Regions from separate parts of the Homo sapiens genome. Here regions 2, 3 and 4 are each linked to region 1. The links are contacts of gene promoters, found by promoter capture Hi-C in blood cells and fetal thymus (Javierre and others, 2016). All regions are on one chromosome and are shown on one strand. The core of a region is centred on a gene start or on the middle of the fragment in contact, and the rest is flanking DNA. Distances in the headings are between cores, read along the strand shown. Region 1 holds the start of CHST6 (carbohydrate sulfotransferase 6). Region 2 overlaps LOC105371348 (a long non-coding RNA gene). Region 3 holds the start of CTRB2 (chymotrypsinogen B2). Region 4 has its middle 31 kb from the start of CPHXL.

Region 1 (3,765 bases), core at 863-3,362:
TGAAACCCCATCTTTACTAAAAATACAAAAATTAGCCGGGCGTGGTGGCGGGTGCCTGTAATCCCAGCTACTCAGGAATTTGAGGCAGGAGAATCGCTTGAACCTGGGATGCGGAGAGGTTGCAGTGAGCCGAGATTATGTCACTTTCACTGCACTCCAGCCTCGGTGACAGAGCGAGACTCCGTATCAAAAAAAAAAAAAAAAATCTGTAAAGTGGGGGAAACAATATAACCCAACTCATGGGCTTGATTGAAAGAGTGAGTGAGTGGATATTTGTAAAGCAGAACAAAGTCTGGCGCATAGTGCACTTATGAGTATTTGCTTAGCAATCTTCCTTCCTGGGCCACACTTATATTCTATGAATCCAAGGGAAAGTCTTTGAATGAGGAAAACCCAAGGACAATGGCTCTACCAGATTCAGGTGCCCCAGTGCCCCAGCAACAGAATGTGGCAGGCACAGACAGGGTCCCCACAAGGGCAAACAAAACAGAAGACGCTGGAAAGTCATGGCTAGAGGCCTGGCTTGTGTTTTTTCTGAGATGGAGTCTCGCTGTTGTCCAGACTGGAGTGAAGTACCGCAATCTCAGCTCACTGCAACCTCCGCCTCCTGGGTTCAAGTGATTCTTCTGCCTCAGCCTCCCAAGTAGCTGGGATTACAGGCACTCACCACCATGCCCAGCTTATTTTTGTATTTTTAGTAGAGATGGGGTTTCACCATGTTGGCCAGGCTGGTCTTGAACTCCTGACCTCAGGTGATCCACCTGCCTCGGCCTCCCAAAGTGCTGGGATTACAGGCGTGAACCACTGCGACTGGCCTTAGAAGCTTGGCTTCTGAAGCCGGATTGGGTTCAAATCCTGTCTCTACTACCAGTGAGGGGTGTGACTTAGAGCAAGTCACTCTCTGGCTCTCTATACTCCAGTTGACTCTGTTTGTAGAACAAAGCCAGAAAAGTTCCGGCCTCTCAGGCTGGAGAGGAGCCCAGCCCCAGCTCCCGGAGCAGCATAGCACCCTCAGAGGCCCTGGTACTTGGCCTACTCGCTTGTGGGTTTAAGTCAGCCAACTCCTTTCTGCTCTTCAGGCCTCAGTTTTCCCATCCTCAAAAATGGGAAACTTGACTGCCTTGCCTCTGTGAAAAAGGGAGGAGAAAGGAAAGTCAACATTTGCTAGGCACCTGTCCTGAGGCCCAGAGGGCCTGTCCTGAAGCCCAAGATGAAGCCGTCAGAAGCAGTGACGCAGGACTCCAATTCCCCTGGGTCTGGTTCCAAATCAACCCGCCAAGCTACCGTCTCTCAATAATTCTATGGAAAAAGCCCTTGGAGAGCTTTTGAAAGTCATGTCCTTTGAAACTCAAGTATCGAGACAAAAGGGGTTCTCCCCTCGCAGTGAGGATTCTCCTGCGCAGCCGAAGCCCCAGCAAGACACTTCCAAACCGGCGCCAACAGCGGCGATGCCCTTTCCACGTTGCTGATGGAAAAGCCACTCCCAGCTCTTCCCGCCACCCCAGGTCCCCGGTGCAGGACAGAGGAGCGTCCCCAGCTGTGCCACCAGCCCGGCCCCCAGCCGACCCGAGTGTGGGGACATCCCCCGCGGAGAATGAAGAACCAACGTACCCCAAAGCTTGGCGGCTCTGCCCGAGCTGCAGCGGCACGGTGGGGGACGCCTCTCTCCCTGGACTCAGCAAAGGCTCCCAAACGTCGTCTCTTCCAAATTCCACCGCACAGCCAGCTCTTTCTCTTCACTGGGAGGGTCCGCAGGGGCTGACTTGCTCCTTAAGGTCCCAAGACTATTAAGCGACACCCGGTGAGGCCGGGAAAGGGGCTCTAAGAGGCATGGACGAGAGTTGGCGGTGACCAAGCCACTGGAAGCTCCTGGAGACTCGAGGTAGAACGAATGTGGGAACAGGGCAGGAGTCCCAGAATGGGATGTTGAGGCTGGGGGTGTCCTGGGGCTACCACAGGGAAGGACCCGGCGCAGAGCTCCCTCTGGAACCCGGCACTGCGGCCCGCGCCCTCTACTCCCCGCGCGCCGGCCGGCAACCCTCGGCGCTGCCCGGTGCAGCCCGCCCGAGCGCACACAATGAGGCGCTTTCAGACGTGGCTGCGGTCCCGAGGTGGCCAGCGGGAGCTAGCGCCGTGGGGGAAGGAAGGAGCCGGTTGGCCCACCCCCGACCGAGGGGCCACGCCTCGGGGGAGGGGCGCCGGCCGAGGGCGGGGCAGGAGGGCCCAGGTGGGCTGGGGCTCTGAGAGGCTCAACTTTTAGCCCAGAATGTCAAAGGGCGCTGGCAGAGTCACCTCTCATCTGACTACAGAGGAACGTTGTACCCCACCCCACCCCAAATCCCCAGAGAAGGGGGGCTCCTGGGAGGACAAAGGCCCTAGTGAAGGAAGTCGAATCTTAATCTTGACCCTCCTCACTCTCGGGGGCATCCTTGCGGCGAGGTGACTTGGAATCCAAACCCTTCCCAAGGCCACGGCACCTGGATGACACATGGACCCGGTGCAGTGTCCCAACTGGGAAGAGCGGAGAGACCAGGTGGCCTTAGGAGCTGGGTCCGCAGCTTTTCCCCTCCTCCTGCGCATTCCCTGCCCTAGCCTAGGCCCAGAGGCGCAGGTTCATAGCAGGTCCAGATAAAGACATGATACGTTTCAATAAATAAGATATTTCCGGCCAGGGCTGGGCGCGGTGGCTCACGCCTGTAATCCCAGCACTTTGGGAGGCCGAGGCGGGCGGATCACGAGGTCAGGAGATCGAAATCATCCTGGCTAACACAGTGAAACCCCGTCTCTACTAAAAATACAAAAAAATTAGCCAGGCCTGGTGGCGGGCACCTGTAGTCCCAGCTACTCGGGAGGCTGAGGCAGGAGAATGGCGTGAACCCGGGAGGCGGAGCTTGCAGTGAGCCGAGATCGCACCACTGCACTCCAGCCTGGGCGACAAAGCGAGACTCCCTCGCAAAAAAAAAAAAAAAAAATCCGGCCAGGCGCGGTGTCTCACGCCTGTAATCCCAGCACTTTGGGGGGCCGTAGTGGGTGGATCACGAGGTCAGGAGTTCGAGACCAGCCTGGCCAACAGGGTGAAACCCCGTCTCTACTAAAAATACAAAAATTAGCCGGGCGTGGTGGCAGGCACCTGTAATCCTAGCTACTCAGGAGGCTAAGGCAGGAGAACTGCTTGAGCCCAGGAAGCGGAGGTTGCAGTGAGCTGAGATTGCACCACTGCACTCCAGCCTGGGCGACAGAGCGAAACTGTTTCAAAAAAAAAAAAAAAAAAAATCCCCTTTACAAATAACAGGGCAGAGCCCAGGCACCTGAAAAGGATGAAGCATTTCTAGGTCTTGTCAAATTAGTGATGGGATCTTAATCAAGAACTCCCTGCTGCTGGGAGAAGAAATAAGCAGTCCTTCCTGGTTGTGGTTTGGCAAGATGAATTAAGATTCTTGACAATGGTCGTAAGCTTTTCGGATTGGTAATTCCTTTCTAGGAGCTATCTTAAGGAAATAAACCAGAAACAAGGATTTATGTACAGGGTTCATATAAGTGTTGTTCATGATTTTGATACTGATTTTTTTTTCAGATGGAGTCTCACTTTTGTAGCCCAGGCTGGAGTGCAATGGCAGGATCTAGGCTCACTGCAACCTCCGCCTCTCGAGTTCAAGTGATTCTCTTGCCTCAGCCTCCTGAATAGCTGGGATTACAGGTGCCCACCACCACGCCAGGCTAATTTTTGTACTTTTAGTAGAGACAGGGTTTCACCATGTTGTCCAG
Region 2 (3,765 bases), core at 322-2,821, 280 kb after region 1:
CATAAAATTGACAAACATTTAGCTAGACTAAGAAAAAAAGAGAGAAGACCCAAATAAATAAAACTAGGAACAACAAAAGGAGACATAACAACTGAGGCTACAGAAATATAAAGAATCATTAGAGACAATTCTGAATGATATGCGAACAAATTGGAAAAATCTAAAAGAAATGGATAAATTCCTGACCCACCAAGACTGAACCATGAAGAAATGGAAAACCTTAACAAACCAATGATAAGTAATGAGATCGAAGCCATAATAAAAAGTCTCCTATTGGCCAGGCGTGGTGACTCACGCCTGTAATTCCAGCACTTTGGGAGGCCGAGACAGGCAGATCACAAGGTCAGGAGATCGAGACCATCCTGGCTAACACGGTGAAAACCTGTCTCTACTAAAAATACAAAAAATAAATTAGCCGGGCGTGGTGGCGGGCGTCTGTAGTCCCAGCTACTCAGGAGGCTGAGGCAGGAGAATGGCGTGAACCCGGGAGGTGGAGCTGGCAGTGAGCTGAGATCGTGCCACTGCACTCCAGCCTGGGCGACAGAGTGAGACTCCGTCTCAAAAAAAAAAAAAAAAAAAAAAAAGAGTCTCCTATAAAAGAAAAGCCCAGTACCTGATGTCTTCGCTGCTGAATTCTACCACACATTTAAAGAGTAACTAATACCACTTCTACTCAAACTCTTCAAAAAAATTGAAGTGGAGAGAACACTTCCAAACTCATTCTATGAGGTGGACATTAACCTGATACCAAAACCAGACAAGGACATGACAAAAAAAGAAAACTACAGGCCAATATCACTGATGAATGTAGATATAAACATTCTCAACAAAATACTAGCAAACCAAATTCAACCACACATTAAAAAGATCATTCATCATGACCAAATGGGATTCATCCTATGGATGTAAGTATGGCTCAACATATGCAAATCAATAAACATGATACTTCACATTAATAGAACCAAGAACAAAACCCATATGATCACTTCAATAGATGTCAAAAAAGCATTTGATAAAATTCTACATCCCACCAGGCACAGTGGCTCACACCTGTAATCCCAGCATTTTGGGAGGCCGAGGAGGGCAGATTGCTTGAGCCCAGGAGTTCCAAACCAGCCTGGGCAATACAGTGAAACCTTGTCTCTACAAAAAAGACAAGAATTAGCCGAGTGTGGTGGCAAGGGCCTGCAGTCCCAGCTACTTGGGAGGCTGAGGTGGGATGATTGCATGAGCCCAGGAAGTTGAAGCTGTAGTGAGCTGTGATCGTACCACTGCACTCCAGCCTGGGCGATAGAGCCAGACCCTGTCTCAAAAAAAAAAATAAAACAAAATAAAAAAATAAAAATAAAAATAAAGGAAAAGAAAAGGAAAAACGAAAAAAAAATCTATATATTTTTCATGACAAAAGTCCTCAAAAAAACTGATTATAGAAGGAACATACCTCAAAATAATCAAGGGCATATGTGACAGACCCACAGCTAATGTACTGAATGGGGAAAAATTGAAAGCCTTTCCTTTAAGATCTGGAAGAAGACAGGGATGCTTACTTTCACCACTTTAATTCACCATAATACTGGAAGTCCTGGCTAGAGCAATCAGGCAAGAGAAAAAAATCGAGGGCATCCAAATTAGAAAAGAAGAAGTCAAATTAGCCTTATTCACAGATGACATGATCTTATATTTAGAAAAAACCAAAAGACTCCACTGAAAAAGTGTTAGAACTGATAAATGCATTCAGCATAGCTGCAGGATACAAAATCATACAAAACCAGGAGCATTTATGTATGACAACAGTGAGTAATCTGAAAAAGAAAATAAGAAAACAATTCCATTTACAATAGCTACAAAGAATATAAAATACCTAGGAATCAATTTAGTCAAGTGAAAGATCTATACAAGAAAAAGTATAAAAGAGTGATAGAAAAATTGAAGAGGACACAAAAAAGGAAGGAGAGTTCATGCTCATGGATTGGAAGAATTAATATTGTTAACATGGCAATACTACCCAAAGCCATTTACAGATTCAATGCAATCTCTATGAAAATATCAACGACATTCTTCACAGAAATAGAAAAAAACTGCTAAAATATACATAGAACTACAAAAGACCCCGAATAGCCAAAGCAATCCTGATCAAAAAGAACAAAGCTAGAGGCATCATATTATCTGACTTCAAAATATACTAGAAAGCTATCTTAATAAAAACATCTTGGTACTGGAATAAAAACAGACACATGGAAGAATGGAACAGAATAGAGAATTCAGATATAACCCCATATATTTACAGCCAACTCATTTTTTTTCTTTCTTTCTTTCTTTCTTTCTTTCTTTCTTTCTTTCTTTCTTTCTTTCTTTCTCTTTCTTTCCTTTTTTTTTTCTTTTTTTAAATGAGACAGTCTCATTCTGTTGCCCAGACTGGAGTGCAGAGGGGTGATCTCGGCTCACTACAACCTCTGCCTTGTGGGTTCATGTGATTCTTGTGCCTCAGTCTCCTGAGTAGCTGGGACTACAGGCTTGTAACACCATGCCCGGCTAATTTTTGTATCATTAGTAGACATGGTGTTTTGTCATGTTGGCCAGGCTTGTCTTGAACTCCTGGCCTCATGCGATCCATCTGCCTTGGCCTCTCAAAGTGCTGGGATTACAGGTGTGAGACACCGCACCTGGCCTATAATCAACTCATTTTCAACAAAGAAGATATAGTGGGGAAAGGACAGTCTTCTCAATAAATGGTCTTGGGAAAACTGGATAGCCATATGCAGAAGAATGAAAGCAGACCCCTGTCTGTCACTCTATACAGAAATAAAATCAAAATGGATTGAAGACCTCAATATAAGACCCAAAACTATAAAACTACCAGAAGAAAACTTTGAGGAAATGCTCCAGGACATTGATCTGGGCAAATATTTTTTTGTGTAAGACTTCAAAAGCACAGGCAACAAAAGCAAAAATAGACAAATGGGACTACATCAAACTAAAAAGCAGCAAAAGAAACAGTCAACACAACGAAGAGATAACCCACAGAATGGGGGAAAATATTTGCAAACTATGCATCTGACTAGGATTAACAACCAGAATATATAAGGAACTAGAAAAACTCAATAGCAAGAATACAAAATCCAATTAAAAAATAAGAAAAAGATCTGAACAGACATTTCTGAAAAGAAGACATAAAAATGACCAATGAGTATATTAAAAATAACCATCATTGATCATTAGAGAAATTGAAATCAAAACCACAATGAGATATCATCTTAAGGTAGGAGGCAGGACTTGACTCCAGAGGTGGGACTTGAACACCGGACTAGATTGAGGACTAGCTAAAACAGGGCTTGGGTGGAAGCAGCTTTCTAATCAGATTCACCCACTAATGTGCCATATGAATTTACCATTGCCATGGCAACACCCGGGAGTTACTGCCCCTTTCTATAGCAATGACCAGATGACACCAAAGTTAGTGCCCCTTCCCTAGAGATGTCTGTGCAAACCACCCCTTAATCTGCATGCAATTAAAAATGGGTATAAATATGACTGCAAAACTGCCCTAAGCTGCTACTCTCTGTCTAGAAGGTAGCCCTGCTCTGAGGAGGAGTCACAAAGCTGTAACACTGCCTCTTCAATAAAACTTTCTTCCACCTCCTGTTTGTCCTTGAATTATTTCCTGGGCAAAGCCAAGAACACTCTGGACTAAGCCCCACTGTGGGGCTCACCTGCCCAGCTGAATCAATCTTACCTCAGTTACAATGTCTTTTATCAAAAGACTAG
Region 3 (3,765 bases), core at 856-3,355, 290 kb before region 1:
GGGGCCTCGGCCCTGCCCGGGTGGGAGCCCCACGCTGCGACTCCAGGCAGGTCAGCCAGGGCAGGGCTCACCCGGCCGGGCGCTGCTCAGAAGCTCCCTGTGCAGGCTCCTCATGATCCGACCTGGATTTTATTTGCATTTGGGGGATTTTAAATTCAGAAGATTTTCAATAACGAACGGGCAGTTAGGAGCGTGTTGGAATTTAGAGCCAAACGGTCACGGGGGGACTCCACGGCCAGGCAGCCCAGACCCCAGAGGCAGCCCCGCGGCCCCTCACCGTTGTACTTGGTCTTGCCCCAGCCTGTGGTGGCACACAGTGTCCCCGCGGGGAAGTCGTCGTCGGCGCTGGGCAGGCACACGGCGGACACTGTCTGGGAGAAGCGGGCAGGTGTGGCCAGCTTCAGCAGGGTGATGTCATTGTTCACGGTCAGAATGCTGAACTTGGGGTTCTTGAAGACCTGGGGGTGGGGGCCAGAGTGCCGGGGTGAGGCCCTGGGAGGAGGCAGGACCTGCAGGCTTCGAGGACAGACTCCTTCCCTGGTGCCCGTTAAGGAGCAGTCCATCCCCAGGGCCGGAATGGGAATCACGAGGCCGGCCCGGCCCCACTGGGCGCCTGTCCCTGAAGCAGCCGAGGGGTCTCCCCCCGTGCCCACGGCCCTGCCCTCTGCTGCACGGGGCCTGGGTACCTTGGCGATCTTCAGGACCTGGATGTTCTCCTCGTCAGAGCCCTGGTCAAACTCCCCAGCCACGACCACGTCGGAGGTCCTGGGCAGAGCGTTGTGGGTGAGAGAACATGCCCTGCTCCCCTCCCACCCGACCGGTGCTGGAAGCGGAGCCCAAGGCTGCCCGGTCCTCACCTGACCCCGCAGTGGGCAGCGGTGACCACCCAGTCCTCGCTGATGAGGGAGCCCCCGCAGAAGTGGAAGCCGGTTTTGTCCTGTGAGCAAGATGGGGAGGGTCAGCACCTCCCACCCGGGGGCACCCCCAGCCTGGCCCCTACCCAGGGTGCCCCCCACCTTGCAGAACCCCCTCACCTGCAGGGACACCTGCCAGGGCCAGGAGCCGGGGACGGCGTCCTCCCCATTCACGATCCTGGACAGGCCGCTGAGCACAGGGTGGATGGCGGGGACCCCGCAGCCTGGGGGCGGGAGTGGGCTGAGGGGTGGGTACCACCCACCCAGGTCCTAATGCTCCAGCCTCCTCTCACTCCCAACTCTTTTCCAGTCTCTGGGACCTAGACTGGCTCCCACATCCCCTTCTCTGAGAAGTTGGCCCTGGCTCTCCTCTCCGCAGAGCTGGAATCCCCAGGTACAACTGAGTCCAATGAACTGGGCTGTGGGCTGCTGAGGAATGGGGTGTTGGCCCCACCTCAGTTCGGAGAAGTCACACAGGTGGAGCGTGCGGTGGGCGGCAGCCCCGGCGCTCAGTCTGGGAGGCCAGACTCTGTGGGTTTGAACCTGGCTCCCTCCCTGCCCAGCTAAGCCACTCAGTGTCCCCATCAGCAAAGTGGGGATCACGCTGTTTCTGACCTCACAGGTTTGGTAGAGTGAGCAGGCAGAGCGCCAGCTCTGCGCCTGGCACCCGGGAAGTGCTCCGTGAGCAGGAGTTTAAGAGGGTGAGGCTCGAGGTTCTGAAAGGTTTGGACTGAACGGTGCCAAGCCCCAGCTGCCCACACATTCACCACCCAAACCTGTGCTGGGGCCGCTGACTGTTTGGGGGTTTCCCGAAGGCCTCAGGGCAGCCCCCGGACACCTGCCTCCTCCCCCCGCCTCCTCCCCTGAGAGCCTCAGGTCTGCTGGGGGTGAGGAAGGGGAGCGGGACTCCCCATCTCCTGAGCTCAGAGGCGGCAGCTGAGCCTGGGAGGGAGGCATTGACCTCTCAGCGCCCACGGCAGAGATGGAGCCGGTGACTCGCCCAGGCCCACACTGCGGTGCACAGCTGAACTGGGAGCTGGGACCCTGCTGCCTCTTGCTGGCCTCGGGGCTGGGAGTGAGAGGAGAAAACCCTTCGGCCTCCGCAGGGCCTGGCACTCACCGAAGGTGGTACCCAGGAGGGCCCAGCAGGAGAGGAGCCAGAGGAAAGCCATGGTGCCGCTGGCAGGGGTGTAGGACGCCTGTCTGCCGGTCCCCGTTATAGCCCTGTGTGCCTGCTGTTATCTGGAGACCTTGGGGCGATAATCCCTTCCCTGGGAGTGGGCAAGATGTGTCGGTGCAGGGCTGGCCAGGAAGCCTGGGATGGCAGCAGCTGTGGCCTTAGCTGAGCCGGGCTAACCCAGGTGGCCTTCGACCATTGCCTTTCTCCTCCAGGCCCAGGCTTGGGCAGGGGCCTCCAGGGGCTGAGTCCAGCATCCCCGGGTTTGAGCCCCAGCTGAGTCTCTTGTGCTCTGCAAAGAATTCACTTGATCTTTTCATGGTTTGAAAACCCCTGGGCAGGCCGGGCATGGTGGCTCACGCCTGTAATCCCAGCACTTTGGGAGGCTGAGGCGGATGGATCACGAGGTCAAGAGATCAAGACCATCCTGGCCAACATGGTGAAACTCCGTCTCTACTAAAAATACAAAAAATTAGCCAGGCGTGGTGGCGCACACCTGTATTCCCAGCTACTTGGGAGGCTGAGGCAGGAGAATGGTGTGAACCCGGGAGGCGGAGGTTGCAGTGAGACGAGATTGCGCCACTACACTCCAGCCTTGTGACAGTGAGACTGTCTCAAAAAAGGAAAAAAAACAAAAAAAAAGAAAAAAACCCAATGGGCAATGTGACCAAGTAGAGGAGAGGCTGGGGGAGCAGGCCTGTGCCCCATGGTGTAGCCAGAGGCTGGGGTGCGGGTGCTCGCCGGGTCCCAGGGGATGGCTAAGAAGGCTCAGTGAAGGCCCAGTCGACATCTGTGTTGGTCACTTGGGCTGTGTACAGGGGAGGGGTAGCTACCTGCTGTCCTCACACTGGGCCACCCCTGCACACAGGCGCCAGCACACCTGGGCCCTGGAGCTGAGCAGGTGGCATCAGAGGGCAAGACTGGGCCTAGGGCCCGGCCTGGGGGCCTGGCATCGCCCTGATGAGAACTGATGGAGGCTGAGCCTCAGGGCAGAGCATGGGCGGGGACACCTGGTTCCTCGTGCGGGTGGCAGCATGGGTGGTGGAGCCCTTTCTCAGCAACTGGGAAACGGGGGAGGGAGAAATTTTGGATTGAGGCTGCCAGATGGAGGGCAAGTTCCCCAAAATGCACAGGAAAAGGTGCCTCGTGGCTGTTTTCAATTCCACCACACTGATGCCTGCAGCATGTGTGTTTACAGCACGGGTTGTGGGGTCAGGCAGCTGTGGAGCCGTGGGCAAATGACTTGCCCTCTCTGATCCTGTATGTAATTGAGGATGCTTAGAGTATGGGTCCCATGACAAAAGGAAGAGCCTTCTTGAGCACCAGGACCAGGCCAAGCATGCAATCCACGCTGGCGGGGCCCCTACATTCCTCTTTCTTGAGTGAATCACCTGTTCAGGCCCTTCGCTCATTCTAGAAGATTGTCTGAGGACAGAGGGGTTGGCGGGCACCAGCAGGACGGAGCATGGCCTGGTCGGGATGAGACGCACCCACCTCTGCATGCACATGGGCTCTTCCTGCCAGCCAGTGCCCACCAGGCCCACGGGAACAGCTGAACAAAACCAACAAATTCCTGCGTGTGGCAGCTGACAGCCGGGAGGAGGCTGGAGAGTTTAGGGAAGAGAGTCAATTTTTAAAATAAGTAAAATACACACACCAGCAGCTAAAGAGTTC
Region 4 (3,765 bases), core at 318-2,817, 260 kb after region 1:
AGTCAGTCCATGGTCATCAGACCCATCTGTTAGTGGATTGACTGGGTGGTGTCATCCAGAAGGAAGAAGGGTATATTAGTCTGTTCTTATGCTGCTATAAAGACATACCTGAGACTGGGTAATTCATAAAGGAAAGAGGTTTAATTGACTTACAGTTCTGCATGTCTGGGTCTGGGAAGTTCTCAGGAAACTTACAATCATGGTGGAAGGGGAAGCAGGCACTTCTTACATGGTAGCAGGTGAGAGAGAGTATGTATGAGTGTAGGAAAAACTACCATTTATAAAACCATTGGATCTAGTGAGAATCTATTCACTATCACAAGAACAGCATGGGGAAAACTGCCCCTATAATCCAATCACTTACCTCCCTCAACACATGGGGATTACAATTTGAGATGAGATCTGGGTGGGGACACAGAGCCAAACCATATCAGAGGGGGCAACACAGGAAGGCTGGCAGCTTGGTGTCTGAGGTCTTTTCCAACCCCGAGTCCAGTTTTATAAATGGGATGGGGAGAGGAATCCTGTGTTTTGTGAGTTGTGGGCCTAAGGAATATTATCGATGACACCCAGGGAAGAGCTGATTGTTAAGCACTTGCAGGTCCTTTGTATTGTTAAGGACAATCCAAGTCAGTGAAATAATCTCAGCCTCTGAGGACCAGTAGCTTTTCCATTAACACAAAAGCACCAAAGGTCTTCCCTGCTCAACACTGTGGTGCAGGAGGCCAGTGGCTATCCTACCATGTCTTTTTCCTTAACACCTCTTTCCTCTTTTCCCACAAACTTGAGCTTCCCCTGCCTTCTATATAAACTGCATTAATGAGTGGCTGTCTTGTGCTACCCAGAGGGAGTAAGATAATCTCTCTGCCACACCAGCCCATATGGTGCAGAGGATGATGCAGAAAATACACAAGGAATAAACACAGAAATATGATGATTCAGAAAGGATGAGTGCTATGAGGTAATAAATCGGACCAAAGGAATAGAAAATGTGTTAGTTCGTTCTCATACTGCTATAAAGAACTGCTCAAGACTGAGTAATTTATAAAAGAAAGAGGTTTAATTGACTCTGAGTTCTGCATGGCTGGGGAGGCCTCAGGAAGCTTACAATCATGGTGGAAGGTGAACGGGAAGCAAGGCACCTTCTTCACAAGGTGGCAGGAGGGATAGTGAATACAGGAAGAACTACCACTTATAAAACCATCGGATCTCGTGAGAACTCACTTACTATCATGAGAACAGTATGGGGGAAACTGCACCCATGAATCAATGACCTCCACCTGGTCTCTCTCTTAACACATGGGGTTATGGGGATTACAAGGGGGATTCAAGATGAGATTTGGGTGGGATCACAGAGCCTAACCATATCAGAGAGGGATGAGGAAGCACCATCACTAAGCTACAGTGGTCAGGAAAGGGCACTTTAAGAAGACGTGATTAGAGTTGGTATCTAAATGAAGGAGGCAGCCACCACATATGTGGTGTAAAGGTATTCTCGGCAGAGGAAATGCCCAGTGCAAAATTCTGAGACTTAGTGAGCCTGCCATGCTAACTGGACAAAATCGTGGTCAGTGGAGTCACAGGAGGTGCTTGGGTAGGTATACACCTGCAAGGACCAGGGCATGGACAACCTCATGGGCCAGGAGAGCATAGATTTGAGTCTCAGTGTAAGTTGTAGGCACTGGAGGGCTTTGAGCAGCATGGCCCATGGTCTTATTTATGGTTTTTAAATGCTGACATTGGCCTCACAGTCGTAAAGGTGAGACAGTTCAGGGAGGAGATAGGGAAAGGGTTGATTACTTAGCCTTTGTGGTCCTTCCAACTCTCAGTCCAGGCTTGTGATGGGGCAGAGAGGACACAGAACAGGGAAGAGAATCAGGGATCCTCGAAAAGTGTTCACATAATTTTGTCTGGGGCTGGTCCTCACTGAAGAGTGTTGGCTTTGACCTGTAAACCCACTTGAGACACCCTTCAGAGTCAAGGTTAAGGTGGCTTCCCGGTGGACACCCCAAGGGAGTTTGGGGTGAGAAGGAAGCTTGTGCTCTCAGGGTTAAATATAATTTGCATTTACATCATGCACATTTTAAAACTGCAATCCTAAACATTGTAATCCTATCAGGTCTTCTTTCGAGATGTGTAATTATTAATACATTAAATTATGGCAATAAAACCAATAGAGAAACAAATAAAATTATTTAAAAAGTAAGTTGGAATAAAATAGTTGCTGTTTTCCTGAATTATTTTAGAGGCTTTGCTAAAAACAACATAAAACTGTAATTATGCTACTTACAAATAGAATAAAATGGAAGTAATTAATTTATTAGTGTTGTTATTGAAATAATCTACAGGCAGAGCACATTATGAAGCAGAATCCTGTCTTTTTTCATCTTATACATGATATAATCACTCACTGGCAATAAAACTAAAATAGAAAATATGAAAATTATTGTAGAGCAGAGGAAAAGGGCTCTTGTGGTTGTGGTTGTGTAGTAGCATGCTCAGTGGGAGGTGGGATCTATCCAGGGGTGACTCACTTTCGTTTTCAGGCTGAGTGGACAGTGCTTGGTGTCCAACATTTCTTGTGGCCAGAGGAGAATGGGGAGGATGTGTCCAGCCAGGGAAGCTCCCTGGTGAAAAGGATTCCTAGGCAATTGTGTCCTGGATTTCTGGAACAGGGGAAGAGCAGAGGTTTCTTTTCTTAGGACCTGTCCCTTTAAGACTCTCTAAACATCTGAGGTCTGACAAGGGGAGGAGGTGGAGGACCAGGGCCTGGACCAGTGGAACTGTGGTCTAGTGGTCATGTTGAATAGAAGGAAGGTCCTGAGCTGTGGCAGCCAGCACCAGGAGCATCAGGTCATGCTCTTTGTGGACCTTGTGAAGGATCTGTTGAGTCAGGGTGGAGTTGACCTGAGGGAGGCCTCTTTCTCCTGGGATCCTGACCTTGGGAGGAATGCTGGGTCTCCCATGAGTCACAGCTTGGTGTTCCTCTTTAAAATACTTTTTAATTTTTAATTTATTTTATAAATTTTTTTGTGAGTACATAATAGTTGTATAAATTTATGGGATACATGAGATGTTTTGATAAAAACATGCAATGTGAAATAAGCACATCATGGAGAATGGGGTATCCATCCCCTCAAGCATTTATCTTTTGAGTTATAAACAATATAATTGCACTCTTTACTTTAAAATGTACAATTAAGTTGTTATTTAGTATAGTCACCCAATCAAAAGTAAGCCTTATTAATTCTATTTTTTTTGTAACCATTAACCTTCGCCACCTCCCCTCAACTCCCCACTAGCTTCGCAGCTTCTGGTAACCATCTTTCTACTTTCTGTGTCCATGAGTTCAATTATTTTGATTTTTAGATTCCACATTAAGTGAGAACATGCAATGTTTGTCTTTCTGTGCCTGGCTTATTTCACTTACCATGACGACCTCTGGTTCCATCCATATTGTTGCAAATGATGGGATCTTATTCTTTTTTATGGTAGAAGGTGCTCCTCTTTCTTTGGGGATGTGGACATCCGGAGGATGCCCTGGTGGTCCTTCTGCCAAATACCCCATTTGCAACACCAGGGACATAAGTATATTTTTGAAAACCTTACATTTTCTTCATTTTTTTTTGGTGTCAGATATGCGTTTTCTTTTTTATTTTATCTTCACACTACCTAGTCAACAAGTTGCATTTCCTTTTCTTTTCTTTTCTTTTTTTTTTTTTTTTTTTTTTTTTTGAGGTGGAGTCTCGCTCTGTCACCCAGGCT

What was found. Contacts are between HindIII fragments. The CHiCAGO score rates a contact against its expected background, and 5 or more counts as called.
Region 2: a fragment that was not itself captured here is called in contact with the fragment with the promoter of CHST6 in region 1 in 1 of 17 cell types (total B cells); the score reaches 5.5 in total B cells.
Region 3: a contact is called between the fragment with the promoter of CTRB2 here and the fragment with the promoter of CHST6 in region 1, in 6 of 17 cell types (endothelial precursors, M1 macrophages, M0 macrophages and 3 more). The highest score is 9.8, in endothelial precursors.
Region 4: a fragment that was not itself captured here is called in contact with the fragment with the promoter of CHST6 in region 1 in 6 of 17 cell types (total CD4 T cells, naive CD8 T cells, total CD8 T cells and 3 more); the score reaches 9.3 in total CD4 T cells.

The regions. Positions count from the first base shown.
Region 1 is chr16:75,493,329-75,497,093 of GRCh38, forward strand. It overlaps CHST6 (carbohydrate sulfotransferase 6), which reads right to left and starts at 2,113. Exons shown (of 3, transcript NM_021615.5): 1 at 1,612-2,113. RefSeq lists an enhancer at 1,507-1,686 and a silencer at 1,987-2,316. The HindIII fragment of the contact is 1,836 bases long and covers 1,617-3,452 here.
Region 2 is chr16:75,776,620-75,780,384 of GRCh38, forward strand. All of the region lies in intron 2 of LOC105371348 (a long non-coding RNA gene), which reads left to right. Among named protein-coding and RNA genes, the nearest start is that of CPHXL, 52 kb to the left of the region's middle. The HindIII fragment of the contact is 9,840 bases long and covers 1-3,765 here.
Region 3 is chr16:75,205,056-75,208,820 of GRCh38, forward strand. It overlaps CTRB2 (chymotrypsinogen B2), which reads right to left and starts at 2,106. Exons shown (of 7, transcript NM_001025200.4): 1 at 2,035-2,106; 2 at 1,035-1,138; 3 at 858-937; 4 at 687-765; 5 at 278-458. The coding sequence starts at 2,086. RefSeq lists a silencer at 1,696-1,915 and an enhancer at 3,588-3,765. The HindIII fragment of the contact is 10,617 bases long and covers 1-3,765 here.
Region 4 is chr16:75,755,866-75,759,630 of GRCh38, forward strand. No RefSeq gene overlaps it. Among named protein-coding and RNA genes, the nearest start is that of CPHXL, 31 kb to the left of the region's middle. RefSeq lists an enhancer at 2,399-2,448. The HindIII fragment of the contact is 932 bases long and covers 1,102-2,033 here.